Regions from separate parts of the Homo sapiens genome. Here region 1 is linked to region 2. The links are contacts of gene promoters, found by promoter capture Hi-C in human tissues and cell types (Jung and others, 2019). All regions are on one chromosome and are shown on one strand. Each heading gives the region's core, a stretch centred on a gene start or on the middle of the fragment in contact. The rest is flanking DNA. Distances are from core to core; before and after follow the strand shown.

Region 1 (4,719 bases), core at 1,994-4,493, 580 kb after region 2:
TTTGTGTGAAGTATGGAGAACAGTGCTTGGCACATAGTAAGCTCTCAATCAAAGTTAGTAATTACTATGACTTTTAATGTGAAGTTGCTAAAATGTTAACAATTGTTATTATTAATTTCAAGTTTCTGTTGTGATTACTTTCTAATAGTAGAAGGTCCAAGTCGGCTCTGTGGTGCAATGGATACTCCGTTGGACGTCTACTATTAGAGGGTGCAGTTAAAAAAAAAAAAACTAAAAATCTTGTCAGCTAAATTTTATAATGAATTGTTAGTCACTTAAATTAATCTTATGTTAGGTATTATCAAACTGAAAATATTTTATTCTGACCTGTGTGCTTTTCTCTGTTCTCTCTGAGAGTAAAGTAGCTGGCTCTGTTATTATGTGCTGGGGGAGAATAGATAGAACGTTTTCTGAGTAGGAAGATCTCTCTCTCTCTCTCTCTGTCTGTCTTACATACACACACTCACACACGCACACACGTGTGCACACACACATTCCCTCTGTGGAGGAAAAAAGAACAGGGTGAAAATAATACCAGAGTGAACATAGGAAGCTTAGCTCTCTGCAGCCTTCCAATTGGTTTTCAAGAGCTGCATTGCTTTTTGCTTTTGTTTGGGTTTTTTTCTTGGAAGCATTTCCCCCTTTTCCCTACTAAGGAATCAGATATTAGATTTCATTCTCATTATATATCACCAACAATTCAGGTATCTCTATGGACAGAAGAGACTGCTATCGAAAATCTATGTATTTGAAGGCTTTGCTTCACAAGTAAACTCGGCAGTATTCATCAATTGTCATTTTCTTAAAGAACATTTCTCTTTTCCTCAAAATTGAACCAAATTTGGCAACCAAAACAATATAAAAAGAGAGAGATCCAGGAATTGTTTAGATGTTGATTGCTATTTTAAATGCCAGATGTCATATGTCTTCACAGAGTCCATGGAGTTGAGTGGGAAGAAGACATTGATTTTTAAATTTTTTCCTAGTCAGATGATTCCTAGGTTCTCTTCTCCATGATCCCTCTCTTCTATTACCAAGTTCCGTCATTAGAGCAGTCATTTGATACATTATGAAGTACTTGGTCTTCTGTCTTCTTGACTTCTTTGGATAACTGTGTTTCCAGTTTCACCAGAATTGAATGAAAGTGGCATATCCATTCCTTTATTGAAGAAATTTATTAAAATTATTTGAATACATAAACTAATTCTCAAAATATTTTCCTTCGTTCCTTTGTATTTTTACTGGATTTTTTTTTCTTTTTTTTTTGAGATGGAGTCTCGCTCTGTCACCTAGGCTGTGTGCAGTGGTGTAATCGCAGCTCACTGCAACCTCCGCTTCCTGGGTTGAAGCAATTCTCCTGCCTCAGCCTCCCAAGTAGCTGGGATTATAGGTGCACGCCACCATGCCTGGCTAATTTTTGTATTTTTTAAGTAGAGATGGGGTTTCACCATGTTGGCCAGGCTGCTTTCGAACTCCTGACCTTGTGATCCGCCCACCTCATGTTTTCCAGAATTCATCCTTCTTTGATAAACCCTTGATATTTGTTATATTTTTCTCTTTAAATCATCTTGGGTAATAAAGTAGTCATTTTAATTCATATAGTGGTTATGTTGGCAAGCCTTTTTGCTTGCATTAACATACATTGAGGTGAATGGAGTGGCCATCCAAATGATCAGAATCAGGATCAAGTTCAACATCCGTAATCAAGGTCAAGTTACCAGAAACATAAAACTGAATCTAGGGACAGAATATTTAGTCGCAGGAATAAAGTCAAGGACATAAAAGTAAGAGTCAATTTTGCTAAATCAAGGTTTGAATTACTAAGGGTCAAAATTAGAAGAACTAGGGAAAATACCCAGTTCTGCTAAACAGAATAAAACCAAAGATGGAAAACAATAACAAGTAGAATCGATGAGGTGTTTTTTTTGTTTTTTTTTAATTTGTCAGAGACAAACATGGAAATGCTAAGGTATTATATATAAACCTGCTGCAAGCTCTTCCTTTTCAGAAAATACTTTATTACTTTACAAAGTTAACCCCTGATGGCTCAGCACCTCATAAGGAAAGGGGCCTGACGATACCCTCTCCTCTGAAAAGTCTTAGAAATAGATTTAAAAGGAATAAATTAATATGTACACTCATGTTTCCCCCCATTCAATTTATTTGCTAGAATTTTCTAGTAGATAGCGTATCAACATTATGGGAGAAATAGCAATGAATAGCTATACTAGGGCAAAATCCTACTGTTCCAATACTAGAAGATTGTATATTATTTTTCAGTTGCTACTAGTAAGCAAGTACACTTTGACAGAAATATTTAAAACATTATTGTACGCCTATAAGACAGAAAGTTGCATTTTATCATTTTATAAAATCTTGTAATTTGACCACTTATGATTTAATTTTCTACATTTTAACTTCTAATGCTTTGAATTGAGTTTAAATACACACATACACACACACACACAGACATCTTTATTAGCTTAGGTAAAATCATTCCTCTTTTAGAAATTGATTTTTTAGCAAAACTAAATACCTCTTCCTGTGTTCCCATCGGCATAAAGTTGGGAACCTCACTTTTTGCTGGCATATTGCAAAAATGGTTGATGCCACTTATTTAGTGGTAAATTTGTATTTTCTGTGTCTATTCCTATTCATTAGGTCCTCAAGAGCTTTTAGCTTTAACTCACTAGTTCTAATTTATAAGTAAAAAACAGAGAGCTGGGATTATATTTTCATTTAGATAGGTTGTTTACTGTTTTTTCTCTGCTTACACTGCTCACCTAAACATCTGTGAGTATATTTTCAAAAAAGGAAGTATGACTAAGGAAATGATATAAAATAAGAACAAATATTTTATATAGTAAGTGATTGTAAAGGAATGCAAAGGAGGAGATATTTTGAATAGATGCAACATCTTGCTTCTCTTTTTATTCTGACAAATTTTTCTGCCCTTTATTGACAATTAACTACAGAGTTACTAAAATTTTATTTTTGCTTTGATAGCTATGCTTTTTTTTTAAACCTTTGTTTTAAAAATAGATCATCTTTTTTTTTTCTTGTCCTTAAAGAACTCTGTGATATTTATAATGGTTTTGATCTTATGAGCCAGGTAACTATTTGGTAATCATTCCTTATGAAGAAATTTAATTTTCATTTCACAGAGTTTTCATTAGCAACTTCCTTAAATATATCTTCATGAGTGTAATGAATGTGGTTCAGTACCTTCTGAGCTATCTGGATATTAGTAGAGTGGCCTGGCATGTTGATAAATGGAGTGACCTGTCAGAGTAAACCTCCTCAATTTCTTGTAAACATGAATTATTGTTATTTAATTGCAACTTCATTTCAAAAGAAAGGAAAGATGCCACGTACATCTAACAAATAAAAATAAGTCACTAGAACGAAGAGTACAGGAAAGATGAGGAAAAGAGAAAATTTCTTGTGTGATTATCATGTCTAAAGATCCATTCCCTTAGCACCTAATCTATTTCCAAGCAATTCACAATTCTTGAGAGAATTAATAAACTTTTTGGCTCTCAGGGTACCTTAGAGAGTATTTTTCAAACTTTTTTTTTACTTTAACTCAGTAAATACAGATGGCCTTCCATATCCATTGGTTCTGTATTCATGTATTCAACCAACCGCAGATTTAAAATATTTGGAAAAAAAATTGCATCTGTACTGAACATGTACTGACTTTTTTCTTGTCGTGATCCCCTAAACAATACAGAATAACAATTATTTGCACAGTGTTTATATTGTATTAGGTATTAGAAGTAATCTAGGATTTAAAGTATAGGAGAGGATGTGTATAGGTTATATGCAAATACTATACCATTTTATATCAAGGACATGAGTATGAGTATCTGTGGATTTGGGTTTCTGATACAGGTCTTGGAACCAATCCTCCATGGATACTGAGGGACAACTGTAATACATTTTACAAGTTGGATAATTATAGAAATAAATGTATATCTTTAAATAATATGTAAAAAAATATATAAATAATTACAAAATAACTTATAGGATGTGTACTCTGATATTTTCTATTTCATTTTTTAAAAACCTACTATGTTGATTTCACAACCCCTAAATGAGTGATAAATAGCAACTTGAAAAATACTGACTGAGGGGATTACTCTCTGAAGGTAACAAATGGATTCTTTATCATTTGTTCATTCACTCAACAGGGTATTATTTGCAAGGCAGTGTTTTAAGTGCTTCAGTATTCAAAGAGAGTTACAGTCCTTGTTCTTATAATCAATTACTTGTGCTCATTTAATCTTAAAGTCCACTTAAAATACAGTATAATATATATGTATGAATTTTTTATTTTCTGTCCTTTCTGTCTCATGCTCTGATATTATTGTGAAATATATCTGTAGAGATTTCCTGTGACTTGACCTTTTTATTTAAAGGTCATAATCTGTTCATAATCTGTTCATAATCATAAGTCATAATGTGTTTGAGACATCATAATGGTTTCTACGGAAACATTTGTTGCCTCTCAAAGAAGCAAGAACACTCTAAATTTTCAAGAAAATAGAATTTGGTGGTAGTGCTAGGGAGAAAGCATCTGACCAAGAGAAAACAAAAATATATGAGTTTGTATCAGGAAGAACAATTTAAAATTTTTCTAATTTGAAAAAATAAAAGTCTTACTTTAAGTGCTGCTTTATAAAAAAAAAATTCTATAGTGCTAGTTATCTTTTTTAG
Region 2 (5,329 bases), core at 803-3,302:
CTACTCCGGAGGCTGAGGCAGAAGAATCGCTTGAACCCGGAAGGCCGAGGTTGCAGTGAGCCGAGATCGCGCCACTGCACTCCAGCCTGGGTGACAGAGAGAGGCTGTCTCAAGAAAGAAAGAAAAGGAAAGAAAAGAAAGAAAGAAATAAAGATCACAAAGAACTTTCAAACAGCTTAGATTTTAAAGTGCATTAACAATTTCCAAGACCTAAGTGACGCTTTAGTGTACAGCTAGAAAACATGGAATGTCATTCCCACCTGAAATGTTTAAGGGAAAATGTACTATTTCCTTAGTTTGTGCAAAATCTGAAATCTGAGTCAACTTTGTTTCAAAATGGAATAAACAAAGTTTGATTGGACCCACTAAACATTCTTCTTAGCAACAATGCGACACTTGCAAGGAGTTCCCTTTTTCACACTCTTCAAAGAGGAAATATTCCGATTTCGTAAAATTAGGGCTTCGCTTTTAAAAAAAATTACAGACCAAAAAAAGTGTGGTTACACAATATAACTAGTATTGACTTAAGGGTACTGTGATCACCATGCAGTGATCCCATAAAAGATGTGACCAAAATACCCACTTAAAATTTGAACGTCAGTCATGTAAGAACATGTAAAAGATGAAGGGAATATTTCAAAAACGACTATCTGACGTAATATGATACTTACTATGACTCATATGGGCTTTGTTCTTCATCTCATCTTCAAATAAAAAGTTGATGATTAGAAAAAGGAGCATTAGAAGGGGGAAGTAACACTACTCGGCAATAGAGAAAAACTCCGGTCAAAGGAAGAGCATAGTTACAGAGCTCCGAATGTCAGGGAAAATCAAGCATCCGTCATTCGGAATTAGCTCTGTATCGGTCGGTTTCTTCATTACTTAATTGTACGGGGGGAAACTACTTCAAAGTAAGGGCTCTTACGAGAGGCAACTTAAGCATTTGAAAGTGCAGGTTTATTTCCTCCTAGCGAGAAGTAGGGGGTCACTAGTGAGAAACCTATTTCAATCTGTGAGACGCCCCCTTCTACTCAGCCCACGTGGCTAAAGTAAACAGAAGGTGGGCCGGGGCGGGGAGAAACAGAACTCGGTCAATTTCCCAGTTTGTCGGGTCTTTAAAAATACAGGCCCCTAAAGCACTAAGGGCATGCCCTCGGTGAAACAGGGGAGCGCTTCTGCTGAATGAGATTAAAGCGACAGAAAAGGGAAAGGAGAGCGCGGGCAACGGGATCTAAAGGGAGATAGAGACGCGGGCCTCTGAGGGTAAGGTGGGCGCAAGCGGAGGTGTGGTGCGGGGAGAGGTGCCAGTGGGTGGAGGCGGGGGCCAGAGCGAGGGCACGTGCGGGTACACTCCGGAGGAGGTGGGTGCGCGCGGGGGCGTGTGCGCGGGACCTCGAAGTGGTGGTGGAGTGCAGACCAGCAAAAAGTTTCAAAGGGAAATCTTAGATGTCACGTCTTTGTCCAGGCACCCGTGCCATCCCAACCTCCCACCTCGCCCCCAACCTTCGCGCTTGCTCTGCTTCTTCTCCCAGGGGTGGAGACCCGCCGAGGTCCCCGGGGTTCCCGAGGGCTGCACCCTTCCCCGCGCTCGCCAGCCCTGGCCCCTACTCCGCGCTGGTCCGGGCGCACCACTCCCCCCGCGCCACTGCACGGCGTGAGGGCAGCCCAGGTCTCCACTGCGCGCCCCGCTGTACGGCCCCAGGTGCCGCCGGCCTTTGTGCTGGACGCCCGGTGCGGGGGGCTAATTCCCTGGGAGCCGGGGCTGAGGGCCCCAGGGCGGCGGCGCAGGCCGGGGCGGAGCGGGAGGAGGCCGGGGCGGAGCAGGAGGAGGCCCGGGCGGAGGAGGAGAGCCGGCGGTAGCGGCAGTGGCAGCGGCGAGAGCTTGGGCGGCCGCCGCCGCCTCCTCGCGAGCGCCGCGCGCCCGGGTCCCGCTCGCATGCAAGTCACGTCCGCCCCCTCGGCGCGGCCGCCCCGAGACGCCGGCCCCGCTGAGTGATGAGAACAGACGTCAAACTGCCTTATGAATATTGATGCGGAGGCTAGGCTGCTTTCGTAGAGAAGCAGAAGGAAGCAAGATGGCTGCCCTTTAGGATTTGTTAGAAAGGAGACCCGACTGCAACTGCTGGATTGCTGCAAGGCTGAGGGACGAGAACGAGGTCAGAGCGCTTCTCTTATGCCGCGAAACTCTCCCTTTCTTCTCCCCTTCGCTTTTTCTCGGGCTTCCAGGGACTGGGGAGCAAACCCTGTAGTGTCACCCACAAATACCAAGAGGGAAGAGGGAAGCTTCACAAATTACTGGAGCCTCTTCAACATGGCTGACAAATATAGTTTTAATTCCCTCTACCCCTTTTAAACCTGTAGTTCTGTGTTCTCTTCTCTCCTCCTAATGCTCGTCCCCTCATCTCCCAGAAAACTTACCTTTGTGCCTCCGACGAGCCGGTTTCCCGGCCTTTTTTAATCCTCAGAAAAGTGATTTTTAAATTTGCTTTCCTTTCTAAAATAGTTCAGCTTTGGGGGCACTACTTTTCCCTTTAATCCTCTTCCCCTGTTTCTTTCGTGTAAGTGAAACGAGTCTCCCGTTTATCCTGAACAACCTCAGAGAGAACACTGATAGGGTGTTTTTCGACCCTTTTATCAGCTGTAGGGTCTGGGTCTGGGTTTGTGTCTGCCTCCTCCTACCTTCTTATCCCCCTTTAGGGGGCTGTACGAAGTGAATGTCACAGGGAGTGGAATTGGAGTACACTGAGTGGGTTTTTTTTTTCCTTAAGTCCGCGCGTTTTGTTAGCGGCGCTGAGTGAAAGAGGAAAGAATAGTTTCTCTGGTTCCCCAAACAAGACCAGAACTCACTTTTCTCAAGGTACATAAGTCAGCGCTGGGCTGAGCCTTCCAGCCTGGGGAATGTATGTAAGAGAATTTATGGACAAATCTGTGTCCCGGCTTTGTGCTTCTCCCGAATCAGCTTCGTTTGGTTCCTTGGTAAGTGACAGGCAGACACAAAGGCAGGCGCAGGCCCGGGGAGGGGGCGGGAGGGGGTGGGGAGCGCAGCGTTGGAGTTGCAAGACTGCAAGGTCAGGGGCGCCTAAAGAAATGAAACCCAATCCCAGCAAAGAAGTGAAGAGCAGATTTATAACAGTCCCATCCAAATTTCTCTTTGGCTTCTCTCTTTGGTCTTTCATCTCTCTGCCTTTCTCTCTGTGTCTCCTCTCTACTCTTTCTTCTCTCTCTCTCATACACATACACACACACACACACACACACACCTCACTCGCATCTTGCTGAATCTTTTCACTGGGACTGCTTGTCTAGTTTTATTAAGCTAATAGGGTTTGTATGGAGAGTTTTCTACCTATGACATAATGAAGTGTGGCCTGGATAGACTCCTGGAAAGGCCGAAAATGAAATATAAGTGTTATTTGCTGGTTATTCCCCTCATGATATACTTTTAATTACATTGAGGGAGTTCTCCCTTCTTCATCTAATGTTTAAGAATTGAGAAAAGGCTTATTTTCCAGCGGTAAAATTTAGTGCATAAAATTTAGTGAAATATTTATATATTTACGTGTCTAGGGAGTGGAATACATTCATGAATTTAATATCTCAAATCACACATTGTGCTTTTTCCCCTTCAGTCAGGGATTATAATGGGAAACCCAAATTCAAAGATATTCATCAACAAATGATCCATCATAGGAATAAGATTGTATCTTAAGGGAAGTTGGGATTCACAGAGAAAAGACATTGGTTTGGTTTGGTGTGATACTGTGGGTATTGTTGCCTGGCTAATGAAATCATTACATTTGCATTTTAATGGAAAGTTGAAATACTAAGGGGAGTTATGTTCTTTTACATGTTTGTATGTGTGCTTAATAATGTTTGGAATAGAATATAAATTTAAACACAATAAATATTGATTTTTTTAAATGTTAATAAGCAGAGAACGGTTAATGAAGTGTTGGATAATCAAACTGAAGTTTAGAAGACAATTTATAGGATTAAAAAATGGATAGAAGGAAAAACACAATAATAGATATTTCTCCATAAGTCGAATTTCCAAAACTATTTGTCCTCGATAGTTCACTTTGTAACTTTCTATTTTGATCTTTGTTAATTTAATGTAGTTTGCTTTAATCATTGATACGTGGGGTTCTTTCACATGATTACAAGGGAGAAGCATTACTCATCTCTGTGGAATAGAAACGGTTCATTGGTTAGTTCTTATTTGCCCTAAAATTAAAACAAAAATTAGGATTTTACCATTAATGCTGTTCATGGTAAACTATCGAGAAAACTATGGTTAATTATTCCAGCAATTCAGAATTAAAAACAATTCCTTTTGCTAACAAACTAATATTTACTTTTTGGGGACAACTTTTCAAATGTTGTGGTATATACTGTCTTCAGGCTACTCAACTAATAATAGATACAACATTTTCCACTCAATAAATAAGAATAACTACATTGGTTAATAATTTTGAATACAACTATGAAGGCTTGTTTTTTCCTGTCATCAAATTTAGATTCTTGTTATTTTGTGCATCCTACTTTTATACTGAAAATAGCTGCTAATTAATACTGTATAAAGTATTTCAGTGATTATAAGGAAGAGATGTGTATGTTAGTCACTTTATCCTTTGTTGGAAAAGAGAAATTATTTTAATAAGTATGGGGTAGTTTACAATAAAAGACATAACCTCAGTTCTTTCTTTACCATATATGTGATCATACTACCTAGGTGCTCCAAAAATTCCATAGGACTGTCTTGGGTTATTGAATTTTAGGAACATGATAATGGACAATAACAAGATAGATAGCTTTTCTTAACTATGACATTGTTTTGCTTATTTTCTTATTGAACTAATCATCAATGAGAAATTAAGTTGCAGTGAGAGAAATCCCTTGCTTTGTTTAAATTGTCATATTTGCCAAACTCTTCTTAAGGCTTTAATTAGGTCTGATGTGCCAGTTTATGCCAGAAGCCGGAGGAATTGATATGATTTTGAGGCAGTGGCACATGGTCCTACTAGACATTGGCAAGTGAATATCACTTCCAGAACAAGTGAAGTGCACCTGCCAAGGAGTTGTTATGAAAGAATTCCAAAGTCCTTATTGGGCACTGGTCTTGTATTAGGTAACAACAACTGGAGTTAATGTTTTAGTTTCACTTGTTGAAGTTAAAAGTTCCCTATCAATTCTTCTAAGACTCCACCCCCAAACAATGTTGTAAGTCAAATGTCACTATTGAAATGTATTTCCTTAATTACTGACCTCATTAAGAAGCCCTTCTTATGATTCATAGGCACACCTCACAGAAACTCTATTTTCCATCCTG

Evidence for each region. Contacts are between HindIII fragments. The study calls those that stand out against the background at their distance.
Region 1: a contact is called between a fragment that was not itself captured here and the fragment with the promoter of TET2 in region 2, in 1 of the 25 tissues and cell types used here (spleen).

Annotation. Positions count from the first base shown.
Region 1 is chr4:105,719,725-105,724,443 of GRCh38, forward strand. The region is part of intron 3 of GSTCD (glutathione S-transferase C-terminal domain containing); the gene reads left to right. Among named protein-coding and RNA genes, the nearest start is that of GSTCD, 13 kb to the left of the region's middle. The HindIII fragment of the contact is 8,290 bases long and covers 1-4,719 here.
Region 2 is chr4:105,144,824-105,150,152 of GRCh38, forward strand. TET2 (tet methylcytosine dioxygenase 2) reads left to right here and starts at 2,053. Exons shown (of 11, transcript NM_001127208.3): 1 at 2,053-2,156. It overlaps LOC124900868, which reads right to left. Exons shown (of 3, transcript XM_047416559.1): 2 at 672-2,138. The coding sequence ends at 1,450. RefSeq lists silencers at 1,315-1,994, 2,958-3,027 and enhancers at 2,065-2,234, 2,578-2,627. The HindIII fragment of the contact is 6,833 bases long and covers 229-5,329 here.